3 separate regions of the Homo sapiens genome follow, and all the other regions are linked to region 1. Evidence: promoter capture Hi-C in 16 types of primary human blood cells and fetal thymus (Javierre and others, 2016). All regions are on one chromosome and are shown on one strand. Each heading gives the region's core, a stretch centred on a gene start or on the middle of the fragment in contact. The rest is flanking DNA. Distances are from core to core; before and after follow the strand shown. Region 1 holds the start of TMEM108-AS1 (TMEM108 antisense RNA 1). Region 2 overlaps TMEM108 (transmembrane protein 108). Region 3 overlaps TMEM108 (transmembrane protein 108).

Evidence for each region. The method cuts DNA at HindIII sites, captures the fragments that hold promoters and counts their contacts. A CHiCAGO score of 5 or more calls a contact.
Region 2: a fragment that was not itself captured here is called in contact with the fragment with the promoter of TMEM108-AS1 in region 1 in 1 of 17 cell types (megakaryocytes); the score reaches 6.6 in megakaryocytes.
Region 3: a fragment that was not itself captured here is called in contact with the fragment with the promoter of TMEM108-AS1 in region 1 in 1 of 17 cell types (megakaryocytes); the score reaches 6.6 in megakaryocytes.

The regions. Positions count from the first base shown.
Region 1 is chr3:133,254,317-133,258,675 of GRCh38, forward strand. TMEM108-AS1 (TMEM108 antisense RNA 1) reads right to left here and starts at 2,805. Exons shown (of 3, transcript NR_110812.1): 1 at 2,709-2,805. All of the region lies in intron 3 of TMEM108 (transmembrane protein 108), which reads left to right. The HindIII fragment of the contact is 5,600 bases long and covers 1-3,135 here.
Region 2 is chr3:133,078,979-133,083,551 of GRCh38, forward strand. All of the region lies in intron 2 of TMEM108 (transmembrane protein 108), which reads left to right. Among named protein-coding and RNA genes, the nearest start is that of TMEM108, 43 kb to the left of the region's middle. The HindIII fragment of the contact is 1,266 bases long and covers 1,953-3,218 here.
Region 3 is chr3:133,063,644-133,068,163 of GRCh38, forward strand. The region is part of intron 2 of TMEM108 (transmembrane protein 108); the gene reads left to right. Among named protein-coding and RNA genes, the nearest start is that of TMEM108, 28 kb to the left of the region's middle. The HindIII fragment of the contact is 4,505 bases long and covers 1-3,551 here.

The DNA of each region.
Region 1 (4,359 bases), core at 1,555-4,054:
GGCTTCCCTTGAGAATTGGAAACCATAGGCCTGCCCTCTTGTGGTTTTGGTTTTGATTCCTATTAAATATGCAATATGAATAACTCTAAGATGCCATGTAAATAAAAATAGTTCCAGTTGGTAACACCTTCTGGGACCCAGCTAAAACAAATGGAAATTCTCTTGGTAGGAAAATGTTCTCAACCAAGGTGCCTCAAGATACTTGCATATTAACGTCAGTCGAATATGTGATCTCAGTAAAAAGTTACCAAATACATAAGAAAGCAAGCTATGATAAGCAAGACTCAGCAAAAGGGAGAGGAGAAAAAAAAGAGATTGATGATTGATTGATTAAGACTGCCAAAAACTTAGAATTATCAGATACTGAATATGAACTACTTGATATTCTCATAATCTATTAATGTTTAACAATTACCCCAGACCTTCGTGGCATAAAACAACCATGTATTATGCTCATGGAGTCTGTGGGTCAGTGACTTAGGATATAGGAAGAATGATTTGTCTCTGTTCCATGTTGTCTGGGTCCTCAGCTAGATGGCCTGAAGGCTGAAGTGACTTGACAGCTGACTGCTGCAATACTCTGAAGTCTCATTCATTCATATTTCTGGTGGTTCATGCTGGCTGTGAATGGGACCTTAGTTGGAGTTATCAACCACACACCCAAATGTGGCCTCTCCATGTGGCCTTGACTTCTTCACAGTATGTTAATTGGTTCCCAGGGTGTGTGCAGAGAGAACCAGATAGAAGTCATATAATCCTTTCTAACCTACCTTCAGAGTCATGCAGCATCACTTCCACAATATTTTACTCATTAAGGAGATTACATGGCCTAGCCAGGCTTGAGGGAAGGGAAAATGTATTTCATTTCTTGATGAGGATTGGCAAGGTTCTGAGAAGGCATTTGGAGCCAGAGTATTGTTGCATCCATTTTAGAGACAGTCTGTTACACTATATAAAAATACTGAAACAAAAGATGGAAATAGGGGAGGAAGATTATGAGACGATAGACTACTCAACTTGAAAAAAGACCCAGCTACAACTTACAAAATTAAAAACATGTAATTATTGGAATTTAAAATTCAGTGGATGGCTTAACTAGCAGATTAAACATCTTCTTTAAAAATATCAATGTACTAAAACAGAGCTTAAGAAATTACTTGGAATATACTATGGAGAAATAAGAAAGTAAAAAAATGAGAAAGGGTAATTGAGACACAGAAGCTAGTATGAGAAGGCCTAACATAAGTACAGGTGGGGGTTCAAGAACGAGAGAATAGAGACAATGGGGGAGACGTATTTGAAAACATAATGGCTTAGAATATTTTCTAGAATGTATGAAAGATATGCATACTCAGATTCTGGGAATACTGTGAGTCTCAAAAATAATAAGGGCTGGGCGTGGTGGCTCACGCCTGTAATCCAAGCTCTTTGGGTGGCCGAGGTGGATAGATCACCTGAGGTCAGCAGTTCAAGACCAACCTGGCCAACATGGTAAAACCCCATCTCTACTAAAAATATAAAAATTAGACAGGCATGGTGGTGCACGCCTGTCATCCCAGCTACTCAAGAGGCTGAGGCAGGAGAATTGCTTGAACCTAGAAGGCGGAGCTTGCAGTGAGCCGAGATCATGCCACTGCACTCCAGCCTCTGCACTGGCTGACAGAGTGAGTCTCCTTCTCAAAAATAAATAAATAAATAAACAACAAGAACTGCATGCATGCCTGGTTATAAAAACAGCAAATAAAGAGATAATCCTAAAAGCAGCCAGAGGAAAATGTTCCTTATAAAGGAATAATATTTAAACTGATGGTTGACTTCTCAACAGCCACCACAGAATCAAGGAGACAGTGAAATAATATCTTTAAAATGCTGATAGAAAACAACCAGCAACTTGGAATTAAAGATCTGATCAAATAATCATTAAAGCACGAGGGTAAAATAAAGACATTTTCAGATATTTTTTAAAGTAGAACATTTTCACAGATGGACATTCATTTACAGAACTTCTAAAAGATATGCCTCAGGAAAAAGAACATTTCTTCTGAGAAACAAGGTCTTAAATATAAGAAGGAATAGCCAGCAAAGAAATTGGCAAACATAGTAGTCAACCCAAGCAAACATTTTCTGTATGAAACATATAATAATGTCTAATATGTGGGGTTAATGAAAAACAACACAGAATAAATATACTAGACAATAATAGCAGTTAAGTTGGGAGGGGATGAAGAGAATCAAAGTCTTATAAATTCCTTGTATTGTTAGGATGGAAAATATATCAATTAACTTAGGCATAGTCAAGTTTTAGTAGGCATGGCAAAATTTCAAGGAAACTACTAAAAGACATAGAATTCATAACTTCCAAACCAGTAAAACAGAACTATTAGAATAAGAAAGAAAAAACTCAGTCCAAAGGAAGGCAATCAAGAAGGGGAAAATAGATATAGAGAAATCTGGATAAGTAGGACAAGGCAGAAATAAATCCAAATGTCAGTAAGCACAGTAAATGTAAATGGACCAAACTAGCCAGTTAAGTGCTCCACAATTCACTTCATGAAATTACTATAACCTTAATGCAAAAGCCAGAAAATGATAGTATGAGAAAGTAAAATTACTGAGTCAGTCTTACCCGTGAACATAGTTCTAAAGTCATGGCTTGGTGAGAGGGATGACAATCATGAAACTGAAAGGGAAACAGTGCCTGTACTTACCATCCCTGATGTCAAAATGCCTGCAAGGACACTGCCTTCCTTTAGTTTATTTCTTGGGTAGAGACGACAGGAGGTCTTTATTGATATTATCTCATTTGAGATTGTCTCTTAATATTCATAACCTAAGGCTGCTATACAGTGCCTGTGTTATATAACAGCACCTCTTTTACAACTCAGGATGTCACAGTATTATGAGTAATGAGGTGCTTGTGGGAGTTATTGAAGGATTAACTATAGACTTGTAACCAATCCAAGAATTGCAGGAGATGAGGCACCCTCGTAAAGAATTTATCAAAGTAATTTGTCTATGTTGCTGTGGACAGATTACATTCTTATTCACTCTCTGAAAGTTTATTGCCAGTCTCTGAGTAGTTACAAATGCATTATTAATAATCCTTAGAAAAGCAATACATTGTTGCATGGCTTAAGCTTTGCTCGTGTCTAGAAATTTGGAACAGTTGAACCTGACTTCATTTCACTGCCTCTTAAAACTTGATCCCCCTGAAACAAAACCTAAAGAAGTATTGTGTTTCTCCCTCTAAATTCAGTGAATCTACTTGTCATTTATTCAGTGGTATTTGAAAGCTTAAGTTGGCAAATTAGACTAATATTAAAAACTTAGATATGCCTCTCTTCCTTCCCCATCTTTGAGAGCTGTTACTGAGTAAAGGAGCAAATGAAAAGGGATGAAACTCTCTGGTAGTTAAGTAGTGTATCTAAACTAAGTGGAGTAGATACTGCCTAGTTGTAAACTTCAGCCAGTTGTCTGTTGAGAAAGACAGGTGCAGGGGCTTTTCTTTTTTATTTTTCATGCAACAACTTACTTAGTGTATAACACTGAGCTATCCCTGTTTGGAAGAAGCCAGAGGCCCAGAAAATTTTTGCTAAAGGAGGGGTTGCTTTATGTATCTCCTTTAAAGGGAGATGGGTAGGACAGGATTCAGATGCTCCTGAGTCCCATAGTGAAAATACCATTTATAACCTGCTGTAGACTGTATGTTTATGATCCCCCCAAATTCATATGTTGAAACCTGAAGCCCAATGTGATGGTATTTGGAGGTGGGGCCTTTGGGAGGTGATTAGGTCATGAGGGTGGATCCCTCGTGAATGGGATTAATGCCCTTATAAAAGAGACCTTAAGGAGCTTTCTCACCCCTTCCTCCGTTTGAAGACATGGTGAGAAGGTATGGTCTATGAACCAGCCAGCGGGCCCTCACCAGAAACTGAGTCTGCTGGCACCTTGATCTTGGGCTTCTCAGCTTCCAAAACTATGAGAAGTAAATTGCTGTTGTTTGGTATTTTATTATAGCAGCCCTAACAGACTAAGATCCTCACCATAGTTTCCATCAAGCTACAAGAAGGGCATGTTGTGAAGGCAGGAAAGCATACCATGTGGTGGGCCCAGGCTGAAAGGAGCCAGCTGCCCACACCACCTCGCTTTTGATAAAGTTGGATGGAGGGGGGTGATGGAAGTCCAAAGGAATTCCTTAGGTGTTTGTGTCTCACATCCTTATCTCTGAGGCAGCTGCTGCCAGCTCATCTCCCTGTCCCTGCAGCTCAGAGGGCAGAGAGGTGCATTCCCTAGAACCAGTCAGCATTCAGAGCTGTTTGGCATCACCACTGCCTCATACTGCTATTCTTCATCCTCTTC
Region 2 (4,573 bases), core at 1,336-3,835, 180 kb before region 1:
AGCCATTAAATTGAGAAGAGAAGACAAACTTGCAAAATATAATAATAGTTATATAAATATTGAATTCAGCGAGAAGTGCCGGTGGTATATAATTAGGTTCTAGAAGAATGGATCAGATAGCTGTGACTTACGAAGGGGAAGACATAATTGCTGACTGCATTTTACTAAACCATTTATTTCCTCCTGGATTTGTTCCCTGTGTGTAAAGAGGGGCCTTCAACCCTGGTCAGGTGAGATGGAATATGCAATGCATATACATTTATCTGGAACTTTGTCCAGAGAATGGGTCTTTCAAAAAACAGAGTTACATAAATCCTCTCAGTGATTCTTTGGGGATTGTTGAGATGTTCGTCATTATCTTTATTTTGCAGGTGCCTTAGTCCGTTTGGGTTGCTATACCAGAATAATATAGACTAGGTGGCTTGTAAACAACAGAAATGGATTTCTTACAGTTGTGTAGGCTGGAAGTCCAAGATCAAGGTGGCAAGCTGATTCAATATCTGATGAGGGTCCGCTTCTGGTTTACAGGTAGCCATCTACTTTCTTTGTCCTCACGTGGCAGAAAGGAGCAAAGGTCCTCTCTGGAGTCCCTCTTACAAGGGCACTCATCCCATTCTTGAGAGTTCATGATCTAATCATGTCTGAAAGGCCCTATGTCCAGGTACCATCACATTAGGATTAGGTTCAGCATGTGAATTTTGGGAGGACACAAACATTCTGTTTATGGCAGCAGGTAAGGAACTGCAGGTCAGAAGGGCCCCAGCAAAGTATCATTCTGAAATGAATGACAGATGGGACAGGCACGAAGCTTGAAAGCGAGGAATAAGGGTGTGTCTTGCTTGACTGTGACCGTCTTGCTTACCTGCTGAGGCAGAGGTGCTAGGTATGCCTTCTCTTCAAGGCAGGGCCTCATCATGTAAAGGAGCTTCTGGGTGGAGGCTGAGTGCTTTCTCTATATAGCCAGAGGCCTCACTCCAATGCTTGGGGTGTGAGATCTAAGTTTTGCACAGATGTCTTCTTGCTACAGGCCAAGGCCACAATTAGGGGGAATGGACTCTTTCCACATACTTACTTGTCATCTCGTCCAAGGTAGATGCTTGATAAAATAGTGCTGTATGCTAAAGTGAGCTGCCTAAGCTTCCCTACACATGAAAAAGAAGCCTAGAGGAGAGCACAGATGGGGGACCGTTCAACTGCATTCCCAAGAGCATTATCCCTAACAGGGATAATGGCAGGATGTCCACTGTCTGCGGCCCCTTCTTTTGCCATTCTTTTACATTCATTGCTGTAGAGGGTATAAATAGGAATAAGGAACTGATGGCTATGTGAAGGTGAATTTCAAACTCTTTGAGTTGTGATTAACTTCCAGAGGCCTCAAAATAACTGATTTACATAAAGTATGATGCAGAAACTAAGCCACTCATTTACATCTTCACCATATTTTTTGCATGTAAGGACATATGTTGGTTACCTTTGGTCTTGACAATAACTTCAAGGAAGGAATGCTTTGTCTAATCCTTGTTCCTTCTTCAAGGCCCAACTCAAACACTTTCTCCCCTGGAATCCTTCCCAGAGCTCTTTAGTCAGAATTAATGATCCTATATACCTTTCCATAGCTCTTTGTTCATATCTCTTCACATATTTGGTTATTCACATGTGTGTTCATTTCCTTCATTCAACTCATATATTGTTTTTTTTTACACTCAGAAGCTGAAATTAGTAGACACTTAGTGCTACATGCTGATTGTAAAGTGTATATCTAGAGGAAAGCCAGTACAGTTCAATGTACCCAGTGTGAAGTACTTTCATCCTAGTACTTAATATTTGGATATTTTCTCCATTTTTTTTAAATACTAGGACTTGCGTGAATGAAAGCTTAGTCTCTAGATAGACACAAGTAGGGTCTCTTCACATGAAAAAGGAACTCATCCTCTTCCCCTTTAGCTCCTTAAAGCTTCTCCTCTGGGTGGCAGAGTCGTTTGATGAAAGGAACATGAACTTTAAGCTGACCAGATGGGTGATCTTGGGTAAGTTATTCTTATCTTTCCACATAACAACTTCTCGGATATAAAATGTGGATAATTACAGTTTCCTTGAACAGTTCCATAGCACAGTGTCGTCACTTCTCATGCCTTCATCCATACCTTCATCATTTCTCATCTGGACGTTTCACTGGAAGATGACTGTCCTAGCTCAGGCTGCCATCACAAAATACCATAGACTGGGCGGTTTGACAAGAGAAATTTGTTTTCTCACAGTTCTGAATGCGGGAAATTTGAGATCAGGGTACCAGTATGGTCAGAATATGGTGAGGGTTTTCTTCCCAGTTTGCAGATGGCCACCTCCTTGACGTGTTCTCACACGGCAGAAAGGGAAAGAATAAGCACTCTGGTATCTCTTCTTATAAAGGCACTAATCTCATCATAGGGGCCTCACCCTCATGACCTCATCTAAATCTAATTACCTCCCAAAGACTCCATCTACAAATACTATCACATTAGGGCTTCAACATATGAATTTGGGGGGAACGCAATTCAGTTCACAGCAATGATTGTGCCATTCCTTCAATCCATTCTTGCTATATGGAATATAGATCTGTCACATTTCCCTGCAGGCCAGAATAAAATTCACATTTCTTTGCATAACACTTGTAACTCTGACTCTTATTTAATGCTTCAGCATTGTATCTCTCTGCCTTCATGTTGGTTGGTTCTTCCAGGAAGCAGACACCAACATGGGATTAGAAATGCAAAAGATCTATTGGGGAAAGATAATAGGGAAAGGGAAAAAGAGTAGGTAGGGAAACTTTAGACTGCAATACCAAGTGAGACACATGAAAAAGAAAGGAATCAAGTACAATCAGATAGGAAGAGCATTGTACTGCAATGTAACTCTGAGCAACAAGGAACTTTTGTGCAAAGATCATCTATAGAGGAGTCCCCATTGGTTGGGAGTGGCAAGCCTTGCTTGGTTATTGGCTGGAGCTACCTTAGTAGAGCATGACCTCAGCTTCAAAGCCGTGGCAGATCCTAAAGACACCCACAGCTAGGAGCTGTCAGCTAACTCTACTCCTTGTGGCAGATTTTGTCTTGAAAATAAATCTGAGCAGCATACTTTATGACCTCTGCAGTCTGCTTTGTGCTCTCTCCTTTGCCATGCCAAGTTACTTCAACAGCCATTCTACAGATATTTGAGTGCCTGCTTTGTGCCCATAACCAAGCTTGCTGAGCAAAACCAGGCTTCTCTGGAGTTTACAGTCTACTGGGGGAAATAAATGCTAATCAGATATTCACAATGATGGTGCATAACTGCCAGCGGCACTGAATGCTCTGCAGGAAAGGAAGTCCATCTTACAGGAGTGGGTGGCAAAGGAACCTGAATTCCTTGAACTCACCCCAGTTTCTTGACTCTCTGTCGTTGTATGCGTTGTTACTTCTGCCATAACGTCCTTTCCCTGCTTCTTTGCTTAGCCAACATCATTCAATAATAACAACCATGAGCACATATTGAGGGTAGCCAAATGTCCTGATTTGACTTGGACGCTTCTGGTTGACTCCTTTTGTCATAGTGTATTAATTAGTATTGCCCTCTTTCCTGTTAAAAATATCCCAGTTTAGACAGTATATTATATGGTCACTTGTTTGCCAAGCGCTATTTTAACCTTTTTATTTATTATTATTATTGTTGTTTTGAGACAGGGTCTCACCCTGTCTGCCAGGCTGGAGTACAGTGGTGTAATCATAGCTCACTGCAGCCTCAACCTCCTGGACTTAAGGGATCCTTTGGCCTCAGCTTCCCAAGTAGCTAGGACTACAGGCAGGCACCACTGTGCTTGGCTAATTTTTAAAATTGTTTTATAGAAACAAGGTCTCCCTCTATCGTCCAGGCTGGTCTTGAACTCCTGGGTTCAAGCAATCCTCTTACCTCGGCCTCCAAAAGTGCTGGGATTACAGGCGTGAGCCACCATACTTGGCCTGTAAACTTTTTGTACAAAATACTCATTTAATGCCCACTATACGTCTAAAACAGTAACTTTTTCAAAAAGTTGCAATTTTACAGTACAAGAAGTTAAACAACCCACTAAAAGTCACTGAGCCAGTGGTGCTGGGATTTGAGCCCAGCAAGTCTGTTCCTGAGCCTGTGCTTTCAACTACCAAGCTGTTTCGCCTCTCAAGAGACATTACTTGGAAAGCCCCCCCCCACCCCCCGCCGCCCCACTCCTCAGCCTGGCTTGACTGTTTCCCATGTGATCCATCTGTATCCTGTACATGCCTCTGTTACAGCACATTGTGATGGCACTGGAAACTGTCCCTCACTCCTCATCCCCCTCCCAGCACCTCACACATACTGAGTGCTCAGTCAATCTGTTGAATAAATGGATTGAGACAGATGAGAGAGTTGCCCATACATGGCACATGGACTGTTAAGCTGGAACAGGACGTTGGGTAAGTTGTTTTCTCCTTTTTAGATGTTTTTGCCCTTGTCCAACCTTCAGAAGTTTACTTCCTCTCTGGTTTAATACTGTTCTTAGACATACTGAATTATAAGGACTGTGGACTGAAAAGGGGCAGCT
Region 3 (4,520 bases), core at 49-2,548, 190 kb before region 1:
GCTTCTCCTTGTATTCTTAACAGGGATAAAAGATATGATTAAGTTAGTCCTGATATTCCCAAGGCTATTGATTTATAGACTGGAATGGGAGAAAGGACAGCACCCAGGGTTTTGGGTCTCCCGCTGGACTCCTGCTTGAGGGGGTGGTCTTATACAGAGCACATAGGGCCCCCATTTAACCCCAGCCAGAGGAGGGGCTGCCTTGAGACCAAGCATTCATTACCCCTGTCCAGGGAAGTATAATGAACAGTAGAGGTCATGGAACATTCTCATGTTTTATTCAACTTTGTGGATCACTTCACGTATTTCACCACATAGACAGCATTCCCTTGTGCCATATTTCTGATTACTTTGTGCCCAGTGAGGATCCTTCATTCATTTATTGCTTCTTTCCTTCCCAGTTACTTGTGTTTCTTTTGTCTGGACAGAAGAAAGCGGTAATGTCTGCCAGTCTGAGGACAGAGCGTGTGTGATGGTGCCCTGTAAGACTCTATTGAATTGAGATACTGTCTGCAGGAAGGCCATTTAGTCTAAAACCAGTTATCACTTCTCCTGAGCTAAAAAGCATTCAGTTCTATCTTCTGGTCACTCCAGAAGAGATTCCATAGTACAAGCCAAAAGAAATTAAATACATGAAGTGACCTTTAATCTATATTAGGGAAATTAATATACGTTTAACTCTTTGGAAGCACTAGATTTGAAATTCAAAATGAACTCCTTAATAAATCCTTACTGTCTCCTTGTGGACAGATGCGTGGGTCTTTAATATCTTTATTCTTTATGTCACAGTCTGTTGAGCCCTAAACATATTTGTATAAATAAAGAGATTCAGGAAAGATTTGCCAAAAGGACTTAATTTTATTTCTAATTCCCCTTTCTGGAATCCTGCTTCCTTTACAAGGATATTGTACAGAAATGTGATTTTATGAAATACTTGAATTGTTTTAATACTTCACTTTTAAAGTTCCACTTTGTATGTAAGAGGACTTCTCAGATTTGAGTCACAATTTTCAAAACATAGTGAAGGACCAAATGGGAATATAAAGGTTGGTTAGAGAAATAAACCTTTTTTTTTTTTTTAATGGACAGTTAAGCACGTGATAGAGGTTCCAAAGGTAGATTGAAGTAGGGGAAGATAATGCTGATGAAATAATGGTTTCACTGGTGTCCCTTCATTCTTTACAAATAAATCTATCCTAGAGATCACTTATGCAGTATGTAAATAATAAACACAGCCAAAGTTGGTTTACTGGTCTTTTTTCCAACCAGAACTTTACACTGATACTTCCTCTCCTCTGTGATAGAGTCATGATCATCAGTCCTTTGGAAGATCTGGAAAGTCCTGAGATAGCAGGGTGAAATCAGACCCCTTCCAGCCTGTAAACTTTTACAAGGCACAACCAGGCCTTTTATGTCTTACATGGTGAAGTTGGGGAAACTATCTCACCATTTGGGAAGGCATAGATGCTAAAGTCACAATGATGTGATCCTCGAACATAGAGCTATTCAATGTGTATTTGTTGGATGGATTAAATTGTCACTGCATTTTTTTTAGCACTATGTATTCTTTTTTAATTCTGTGGACTCCAAAAGTGTGGTTGTGTGTAAGGATATGTACAAATAAACACTTACATAGGTAGCCACACACACACACACACACGCACATGCACACACACATGCACAGAGATGTTCGCATATGCAGAGAGACACCTGACTGTTGGTTCACACAGTTTTCCATTACAGAAGAATGCCTTTCCCAGCTATGGTAAATAAGTGCGGTTAGTCTGATCTCTCCACCTCTGACCTAGTTTTGATATTTTGTAGCTCTAGTTAGTATAAAAGAAACCCAATTTTTTTTTCATGTTCCAGAAACAGGTTCTTTCTTCCTAAAAATAAATGAAAGGACCTTGACATAAGGTGCATATTTTCTAATTAAGAACATCTATGCTGCATTTAATTAATAGCTTCTCAACCTTATTTCCAACAAGTTGTTTTATTCATAACTGGGCCAATTCTTATTAAATTTAAAAAAAATTTATGTCCATATGGCATTCTAGTGGTATGCGCATTTGTACATAGCATTCTAGGAATGAAAATATCATTTTAAAATGGAAATTACAATACCAGTATGTGCCTATTTCTACATAGTTCAGCCATTTTCAAGGCTTAAAATGGGTGGGACCGCACATCTGAATTTTTCAGTATAATCGTTGGGTTATTAATGCATGGCAATTTTAGTTCCGTGAACAAGGAAATACACTGTGCTGGAGTTTCTTCTTTGATGGGTAAATATACTCTCTAAGTTAAGTGTAAGGATTCAGAGCAACCACAATAGCTACATAAGGCTACTCTCTTTTGCTTCATTAGTGTGGTTTTTTGAGGATTTTATTGTCATAATTCTTCACATGTACTTATATTCCAATTACTTTACTATATTTGGTGGCCCAAACGTGACATTCCTTATTAGATTCCCATTGGTCTAAGTAATTCCCATTACTTAGACTCGTCTTTTCTCTATAGTAAAGACTTTCTTGGAGCTTGGAATTTAATTGGTGTTATGCTGGGATAACTACCAAGTTCATTCCCATTGCCATCTGGTATGAGCCTCTTTAGTGTTGTGTGTGCCTGGTTGCACAGTGATCTCTTCAGTCTGTTTTGTATTACTATATTGTTATTTATAATGTACATCTCATTTATTTTATACCTTGTTCTAGAAAGGATTTAGGATGGTTTACAAAGATTCATAAAAAATAATAACTTAAAATTTAAGAGTGTAAGCAATAGAAGAAATAAGAAAAAAAAGCAAGATAATAAGAATAGAACTTGAAAAGGTCTGAGAAAATTGCTGGCTTTTAGGGCCGATATTCATGCTTTTGCATGGACACATATATGAAGCGTTGGGCATCCTAGAAACCATTTAAAAAGGACCTCTATTCCATTACGTGATATCCTTAGTATAGGAGCAAACCATTTACCTTCCTTCTTCTATAGTTTACTCAGTGTTTGTTAATCTTTAAAAAGTTAATTTATTATACATAGAAGAGCAGTTATAATGTATATATTATTTATGAAGAATAAAGTGCATACCCTCTGCCTAGCTTAAAAATAAAACATAACCACTGCCTTTGAAGCCCCCAATGTGCTCTTTACCAATTGCATTCCCTCCCTCTCTCCCCTACTAGAGGTAATTAGTACACTAAAATTTGCAGTTATTCTTTACTTTTGTTATATTTTAACATCTCTTTACAAATGAGTGAAAATGAAACAATAATGTGCATGTTTTTTTCTGTGATCTTTGCTTCTTGTGCTCAGCACTGAGATTCACCCATGTTGAAATTTGTACCTATAGTTCATTCATTTTCACTTGGGTAAACATGTACTACTTATCCATTTCCTTATGAACAACAAACAATGCTATCAATATTCTTATTTGTGTCTCCTGGTATGACTCCCTTTTGTATGTCTTACATAGGCATATATGTGTGAGACTTTCTCTAGGTTTTAGAATTACCAATTTGTTGTGTCATGGGGATAATCAGCTGTGCATATTAAGCTTTACTAGATAATGTCAAATTATTTTCCAAAGAGATTTCTGCTCCCACTAGTGTAAGAGGAGCTCGTGTGCTTCACAGCCTTATGATACTTGGCATTGTGTGGCTTTTTGATATTTGCCCATCTGGTAGGTATTTGATGCATTCTTTATAAAGGTATTGCTAGGCCAGAAGCCTGGCACCAGAGATGAGTTATATATATCCTGCTCATCTTACTCACCAGACCTTCCTTCACAACTTCTCTCTTGTCCCTGAAGTTTTCCTTCATAGCATCCATCTAAAGCTTGACTACATCTCACCTGCTTTAGCTCTCTGAATTATGAATGTTCATCTGCTACTACTTGCTTACATTAAAAATTTAGAACACATTTCAAGTGTCTTCAGTCGTGGTTCTCTATTAATTAGCTCAACACATAAGTTGAATAATTCATTGACACTGGACCTGGTATATGTTAAGGTAAGTACTTTGCTCTCAGAGACTTTTGTCTAGCTAAGGTGGTGAGGGCCAATAGGACTGTAAACAAGTATGTGATAAGTTAAAATGCTATGAAGGGAACATCAGGTGCTGAGATGAATAACATGGAAATGAACTTTAGCTGGTGTCTCAGTTTTGTGCTGCTGTAACAAAGTAAGCTGGGTAATTTATAAGGAACAGAAGTTTACTTGTCTCACAGTTCTAAAAACTAGAAGGTTAATTTGTACAGCAGCATAGAAAAAAAAAAGAAACTGGAAAGTCCAAGAGCATGGTTCCAGCATCTGGTGTGGGTCATCCCACCGTGGAAGGCAGAAATGAGCACATAAGACAGAGGGGAAATCAGGCTAAACTCATCCTTTTATCAGGAGCTCATTTTCATGGTAACTAACCAATCCCTGAGATGTAACATTAATATATTAATGTTATATAATATATTAATGTTATATAATATATTAATATGTTAATGTTATCTCTTAAAGGTCCCACCTCCCAAC